Regions from separate parts of the Homo sapiens genome. Here region 2 is linked to region 1. Evidence: promoter capture Hi-C in 16 types of primary human blood cells and fetal thymus (Javierre and others, 2016). All regions are on one chromosome and are shown on one strand. Each heading gives the region's core, a stretch centred on a gene start or on the middle of the fragment in contact. The rest is flanking DNA. Distances are from core to core; before and after follow the strand shown. Region 1 holds the start of ZNF256 (zinc finger protein 256). Region 2 overlaps ZNF529 (zinc finger protein 529).

Region 1 (3,163 bases), core at 249-2,748:
AGCTCACTAACCTTGGTGCGCACAACAGCCACATCTTGAATATCTGCACCCTGAACCACTCCCTAGATTTCAAGACCGGCACGTTCATCTGCCCACTTAACGCCTCCATTTAGTAGGCTCTGAAAGATCTGACTCTTAGCATGGCATAAACAAACCTGATATCCCTAGTGAATATTACTCCTATTGCCAATTTGTTCATCTTAGTTGATGAAACTTCTTTCCCTACAGCTGCTAATACCAAAAACCCTGGAGTCTTCTCTGAACCCTCTGTTTCACTCCCTCACCACCTACATTATGTAATTTAGTTGTCCCTTTTGAAACCACACATCCGGAATCTAACCACATCTCCTAAATCACGATCCTGGGCCAGTAACCCTCACTTGGACTAGTCTACCCTGATTTTCCTTCCTCCTCCCTCAACCCCCCAGTTTGTGCCCCACTGTGCACACAGATGAAGCCTGTGAAGACCTTGGTAAATTACCTCTTTTTTCTGATTCAAACTTGCTATTACCTCCTGAAAACACACTCAACTTCTCAGGCAGCCACTGCAGTCCTGACGCCTATCCTCCTGTTCTTTGCTTCCCACCAGAAAGCAAGGAGACTTGTGGCTTCATAAATGCACCCAGCTCCGTACTGCACCTAAGCATTTGCACATCTTGTACCTTTCTGGAAAAACTTTCCACACCCGTTCACATGGCTGCCAGAAATTGGAACAACTCTATATACCGGCTAACATGGACATAGGACCCTGGGCTTGGGGTTCACCCAAGGTCTTCAGAACTAAGGGCTGGGGGAATGGCACTCCACAACCCAGAGAACCTGTGGGTGGGAGTTAGGGCTAGTGAGAGACTGGGAAACCCTCCCCTTCCTGGCGTAGATTTCATAACCCTTTACAGCCAAGGGAAACGTAGAAAGAGCCAGGCCTCAGAGAAGAGCATCTATGGCGGTATTAGATGGGCTCAAGCCACCCCGTAGCCCCATGCCTGGCCTTGGAGCCGGGTGCCCTCGCAATGGCTGTGTCACCTCTGTGCCCCAGGGCTCAGTGGCGCCTCTCATCAGGGGCTCCTTGCCAGTCGCGCCCTCCCTTCCCTAGCACACCAGGTGTTGGAAACGGGAGCCCCTCCGGCGAGCCCCCGTGTCCTGTCCTGGGCAGCAGGGCCGCGAGCAAGCGCCCTCGGGGGTGCTAGGACTAGCGTGGGGAGGGCGGGGAAGGCCCAGAGGACGCGGCACATACCTGGGCCGGGGCCGTCAGCTCGGCCGCCGCCATCTGACTCTGTGAGCGGAGCGGGGCCAGAGAGGATGTCCTTATTCCGGGCCGGGCCTGGGTACCCTGGGCGCCGCCGAGCCTCAGCCACGCCTCTGTGCAGCGGGGAAGACTCCTCTCGCGCCTTCTCAGTCAGTCACGGATGATGCTGACCCAGCGCTCCGGGGCTTTCTACCAAGTAATCAGTCCAGACAAATGCCAAAACGACCGCCACAAGGAGGACAACGGAAGTCCCGCCGCGACCGCGCGTGCGCTTACGGAAACACCACCTTTCGGAGGCCTCATTGGCTGAAGGTCGCCGTCGCCCAACGCAGGCCATTCTGGGTAATGTTCCCACAGGCGCACGGCGGGAGAGTGAGGGTCGCCTCCACCTCCTTCCGGAAGTAAAGGCCAAACCCCTGTAGGGGGCGCTGGGAAATGGACACTCCAGGTTGGGGCGGAGGCGAGGCTTCGTTCTTTCTTAAAGGAGACGTACCCAGGTTTCTACCGATTGCTGTCTGCCAGTGTTTGTTTGGAGACGTGTCATTTCATGTGTTCCCAGAGGCACATATCCAGATGCACATATTATTACATACAGTCAGTCAGTCACAAAATATATCCACTGGTTGAGAAAGCAAATAAATATGACTATGTTGCGGCCGGGCGCGGTGGCTCACGCCTGTAATTCCAGCACTTTGGGAGGTCGAGGCGGGCGGATCACGAGGTCAGGAGATCGAGACCATCCTGGCTAACTCAGCGAAACCCCGTCTCTAAAATACAAAAAATACCACAAAAAAAAAAAAAAAAAGAAAAATTAGCTGGGTGTGGTGGCGGGCGCCTGTAGTCCCCAGCTACTCCGGAGGCTGAGGCAGGAAAATAGCTTGAACCCGGGAGGCAGAGCTTGCAGTGAGCCGAGATCGCGCCACTGCACTCCAGCCTGGGGGAAAGAGCGAGCCACTGTCTCAAAAAAAAAAAAAAAAAAAAAAAAAAAAAAAGACTATGTTGCAATTCAAACGCATGCACTCAAGCACTGGAGTCAGTTTTCTCAGTCTCTGTATGTTTGATTAGGGACAAGAAAAAAAACACTCCACACAGGTTCATGACAAAGAGGATGAAGGTGGGATGCGGAGGCACCCTGCAGCAGCAGGACATAAGTAGATCCCTGTCTCTGGGTCCCTCTCGTGCCTGTGTAGTCAAACATTGTGTCCAATTCACTAAGCAACACTTGCATGAATCTAATCTCACTTTCTCCATGCCTTTATATTCACTTCTTTTTAATAATTTGACATCAAGCTCAGAAAGAGAACAACAAAAGGAATGGTATTTTGAAAAGGCATGATGGCTAGCTAGAGCATTAACAGGTGGAACAAAGGGTGCTCTGAATCCCAAATGTAGGGTGTATCTTAAATTCAAGATCTCTTCTCAACGCTGAAATGATTATCTTTGCCCCCATTAGTTACGCTCTTGTTGCCCAGGCTGGAGTGCAATGGTGCGATCTCGGCTCACCACAACCTCTGTCTCCCGGGTTCAAGCGATTCTCCTGCCTCAGCTTCCCAAGTAGCTGGAATTACAGGCGCCCGCCACCGTACCCGGCTAATCTTTTTTTTTTTTTTTTTTTTTTGTATTTGTATTTTTAGTAGAGACGGAGTTTCGCCATATTGGCCAGGCTGGTCTCGAACTCCTGACCTCAGGTGATCCACCCACCTCGGCCTCCCAAAGTGCTGGGATTACAGGCGTGAGCCACTGTGCCCGGCCCTTTGCCCCCATTATTATAGGGCTGTTCTGCATAAAAAATTGATACGATATCAGAAAAAGAATTGTAAAATACAAATTACAGAAAGCTACTAATAATGGGTGTCGCTTCGCCAGCCAGAAACCTCTGTGGTCGCGCCTCTGCTTGAGTTTTGCTCACACCCGCTG
Region 2 (3,163 bases), core at 362-2,861, about 21 Mb before region 1:
CCCCTTTTAAAGGTGTTTGACAAATTTTAGAGTGATACTTTAAGAGAATGATAAATTTTAAGAGACTTACTGGGTGAGTAGTTTTATCAAATATTTAAAAGAGTTCTCTTCATTTGGATCCTGGTTGGTATAGCCTGCAGGTAAAAAGACTGCTTAAAGGAACTGGTTATATTCCAATATAACACACATACACACTATATATATATAGTGCCCAGTATATAGTGTATATACTATATATACATATATTGTGTGTGTGTGTGTGTATATATATATATATATATAGTGTGTTATGTAGTGCATGTGTGGGCATATATAGTATACATCACACACATATACATCACACACTATATACACACATATAGTATATGTGATATGTATAGTATACATCACACATACACTATATACACTATATGTGTATATACACTATATGTATATAGTGTGTGTGTGTGTGTGTGTGTGTTATGGTGGAATATAACCAGTTCCTATGTATGTGTTTTTTTGGGGGGAATATGTTGTATCAAAATAAAGTAGAAATTTAAAGAGAAGTCAACAATTGGATGAAAATGGAAAGGAGATCACACTTCTATCATTTAAAACAAAACAAAACAACATTACACAAAATGATGAGCTGTAAGACTGTAAAAATACATTGTATCTGACTAGGAGTGCTAACTCTGTGGAGGAAAATAAGTAAGTATAGATATCACAAGCAAAGAATTACAATGCAGAAAAGATATTGAAGTAATATTACAATTAAAAAACTGAATAGTCAAAAGAGCAATAATACAAACATCAAAAGCTATTGTAAACAAAACATGCCAGGATGAGAAACTCATGAAAAAAACTTTTTAACATAAAAAGGAGAAATATTTGGCAACATCTAACAAAGCTATAAGTATATATCAGCTATGACTAAGCAATTCTACGTCTACATACAGAATGACCATGAAGTCTAAAAACAGACTTTAAGAGAGGGAGATACTGAATTGCCTTGATTACCTATTAAATCCATCCACAGTATTTTCCTGTGAAAATCAGAAATAAAAAACCACTTTATACATTTATTTCAGTCAAATGATTTCTCACCAGTGTAAATTTTCGGTTGGCAAGTAAGATGCCCAACAACACTAAAGGAATTCCCACACTCCTTACATTCATAGGGTTTATCATCAGTATGAATGCGCTGATGTTTGGTAAAGGATGAACTATGTCTAAAGGCCTTCCCACATGCCTTGCATTCATAGGGTTTTTCTCCAGTATGAATTCTCTGATGTTCTGTAAGGGCTGAACTATGTCTAAAGGCCTTCCCACATACCTTACATTCATAAGGTTTCTCACCACTATGAATTCTTTGATGTTGAATAAGGGCTGACGTAAGTCTAAAGAACTTTCCACACTCCTTACATTCATAAGGTTTTTGACCACTGTGAATTCTTTCATGTCGAGTAAGTTCACTACCTACTCCAAATGCTTTCTCACATTCTTTACATTTATAGGGTTTTTCACCAGTATGAATCCTCTGATGTCTAGTCAGGGATGAACTATTTCTAAAGACCTTTCCACATGCTTTGCATTCATAGGGTTTCTTACCAGTATGAATTCTCTGATGACGAGCAAGTTCTCTACATACTCCAAAAGCCTTCCCACATTCCTTACATGCATAAGGTTTCTCACCAGTGTGAATTCTCTGATGTTCAATGAGCTGTGAACTAATTCTAAAAACCTTCTCACAGTGCATACATTTGTAGGGTTTCTCACCAGTATGAATTCTCTGATGTTCGGTAAGCTGTGAATGAAATCTGAAGTCCTTGCCACATTCCATACATTTGTAAGTTTTCTCATCAGTATGGATTTTCTGATGTCGAGTAAGTTGTGCATGCACTCTAAAGGATTTCCCACAGAATGAGCATTCAAAGTGTTTCTCACCATCATGAACTCTTTGAAGTGGAGTAACTTTTCCAACTCTTTCAAAGGTCCTTCTGTATTCCTTACATTTATAGAACTTCTCATTATGAATTTTCTGGTATACATTAAAGTCTTTATAAAAACTACATGTATTCCCATATTCCATATATTTACAAGGTTTCACACCAGTATGAATATTCAGTTGTAACATACTGGAGTTATCTATCCCAAAGGTTTTCCAACATTGATTACATTCATAGTTTTTTCCACCAGTATGTATTTTCTGATATTCATCAAACTCTAAGTCACAACTGAAGACCTTCTCATATTCCTTGTATTCATAGGGCTTCTCACTGTCATGAGTTCTCCGAGGTAAAGTAAGAGATTCATGAGTTTTGTAACTGGGCACATTTTCAGAGATGATTTTCATTTGACTGAAATATCCCACTTCAGGTCCTTGTAAGTCAATCTTGCTTTTGCTTTGCCAGTCATTTCTGAAAATGGAACCTTCAAGGCCACATAACTTGCTACTTTCCATTACCTCCCACTGAGAACCAGTGTTTTGAATAATATCTTTTCCTACAGATAAATGCTTAGTCTCATTCCTGGACTCCAAATCTGAAAGAAAGGAAAAAATAATTTTCATGTACTACAAAAATAAAACAGTTATAGAAAGAAGAGACAATTTAAGAATAATTCACCATATACATGAATTGGTTAAAATACTGTCATGAAAGATAAAGAGAGCTCACAGAGTAACAGCAGAACATAAAGATTATGAGGATTGTGATAAAGGTAACAGATTAAGTCAGTGGATCTGAAATTTGTGTGTTGGTCATCACCTGGTAAGCTCATTGGTTAAACAGAATCAAAATCTGTAGATGTAGAACTAGTCATTAGCATCTTGTAGAGGTAATGCTAACGCAGATCAAAATTTGATAATCCATATATACTAACACTTTTGTGGTTTTCCTCCCCAAAAATAAATTTTACCGAGGATAATAACAAGGTGCAGTTTGTTAAGACCTCATTTTGCCTGGGCGTGTTGGCTCATGCCTGTAATCCTAGCACTCTGGGAGGGCAAGGTGGGTGGGTTACCTGAGCTCAGAACTTTGTGACCAGTGAAACCCTGCCTCTACTAAAATACAAACAGCTGGGCGTGATGGCATGCGCCTGTAGTCCCAGCTACTTGGGAGGCTGAGGCACAAGAATTGCTTGAACCCAGGAGGTGGAGGCTGCAGGGAGCTGAGATTGCACC

What was found. Contacts are between HindIII fragments. The CHiCAGO score rates a contact against its expected background, and 5 or more counts as called.
Region 2: a contact is called between a fragment that was not itself captured here and the fragment with the promoter of ZNF256 in region 1, in 1 of 17 cell types (non-activated CD4 T cells). The highest score is 7.3, in non-activated CD4 T cells.

Annotation. Positions count from the first base shown.
Region 1 is chr19:57,946,208-57,949,370 of GRCh38, forward strand. It overlaps ZNF256 (zinc finger protein 256), which reads right to left and starts at 1,499. Exons shown (of 3, transcript NM_005773.3): 1 at 1,235-1,499. The coding sequence starts at 1,267. RefSeq lists enhancers at 908-987, 1,478-1,577, 1,648-1,737. The HindIII fragment of the contact is 12,388 bases long and covers 1-3,163 here.
Region 2 is chr19:36,545,800-36,548,962 of GRCh38, forward strand. It overlaps ZNF529 (zinc finger protein 529), which reads right to left. Exons shown (of 5, transcript NM_020951.5): 5 at 1-2,523. The coding sequence ends at 1,067. Among named protein-coding and RNA genes, the nearest start is that of ZNF260, 19 kb to the left of the region's middle. The HindIII fragment of the contact is 7,809 bases long and covers 1-3,163 here.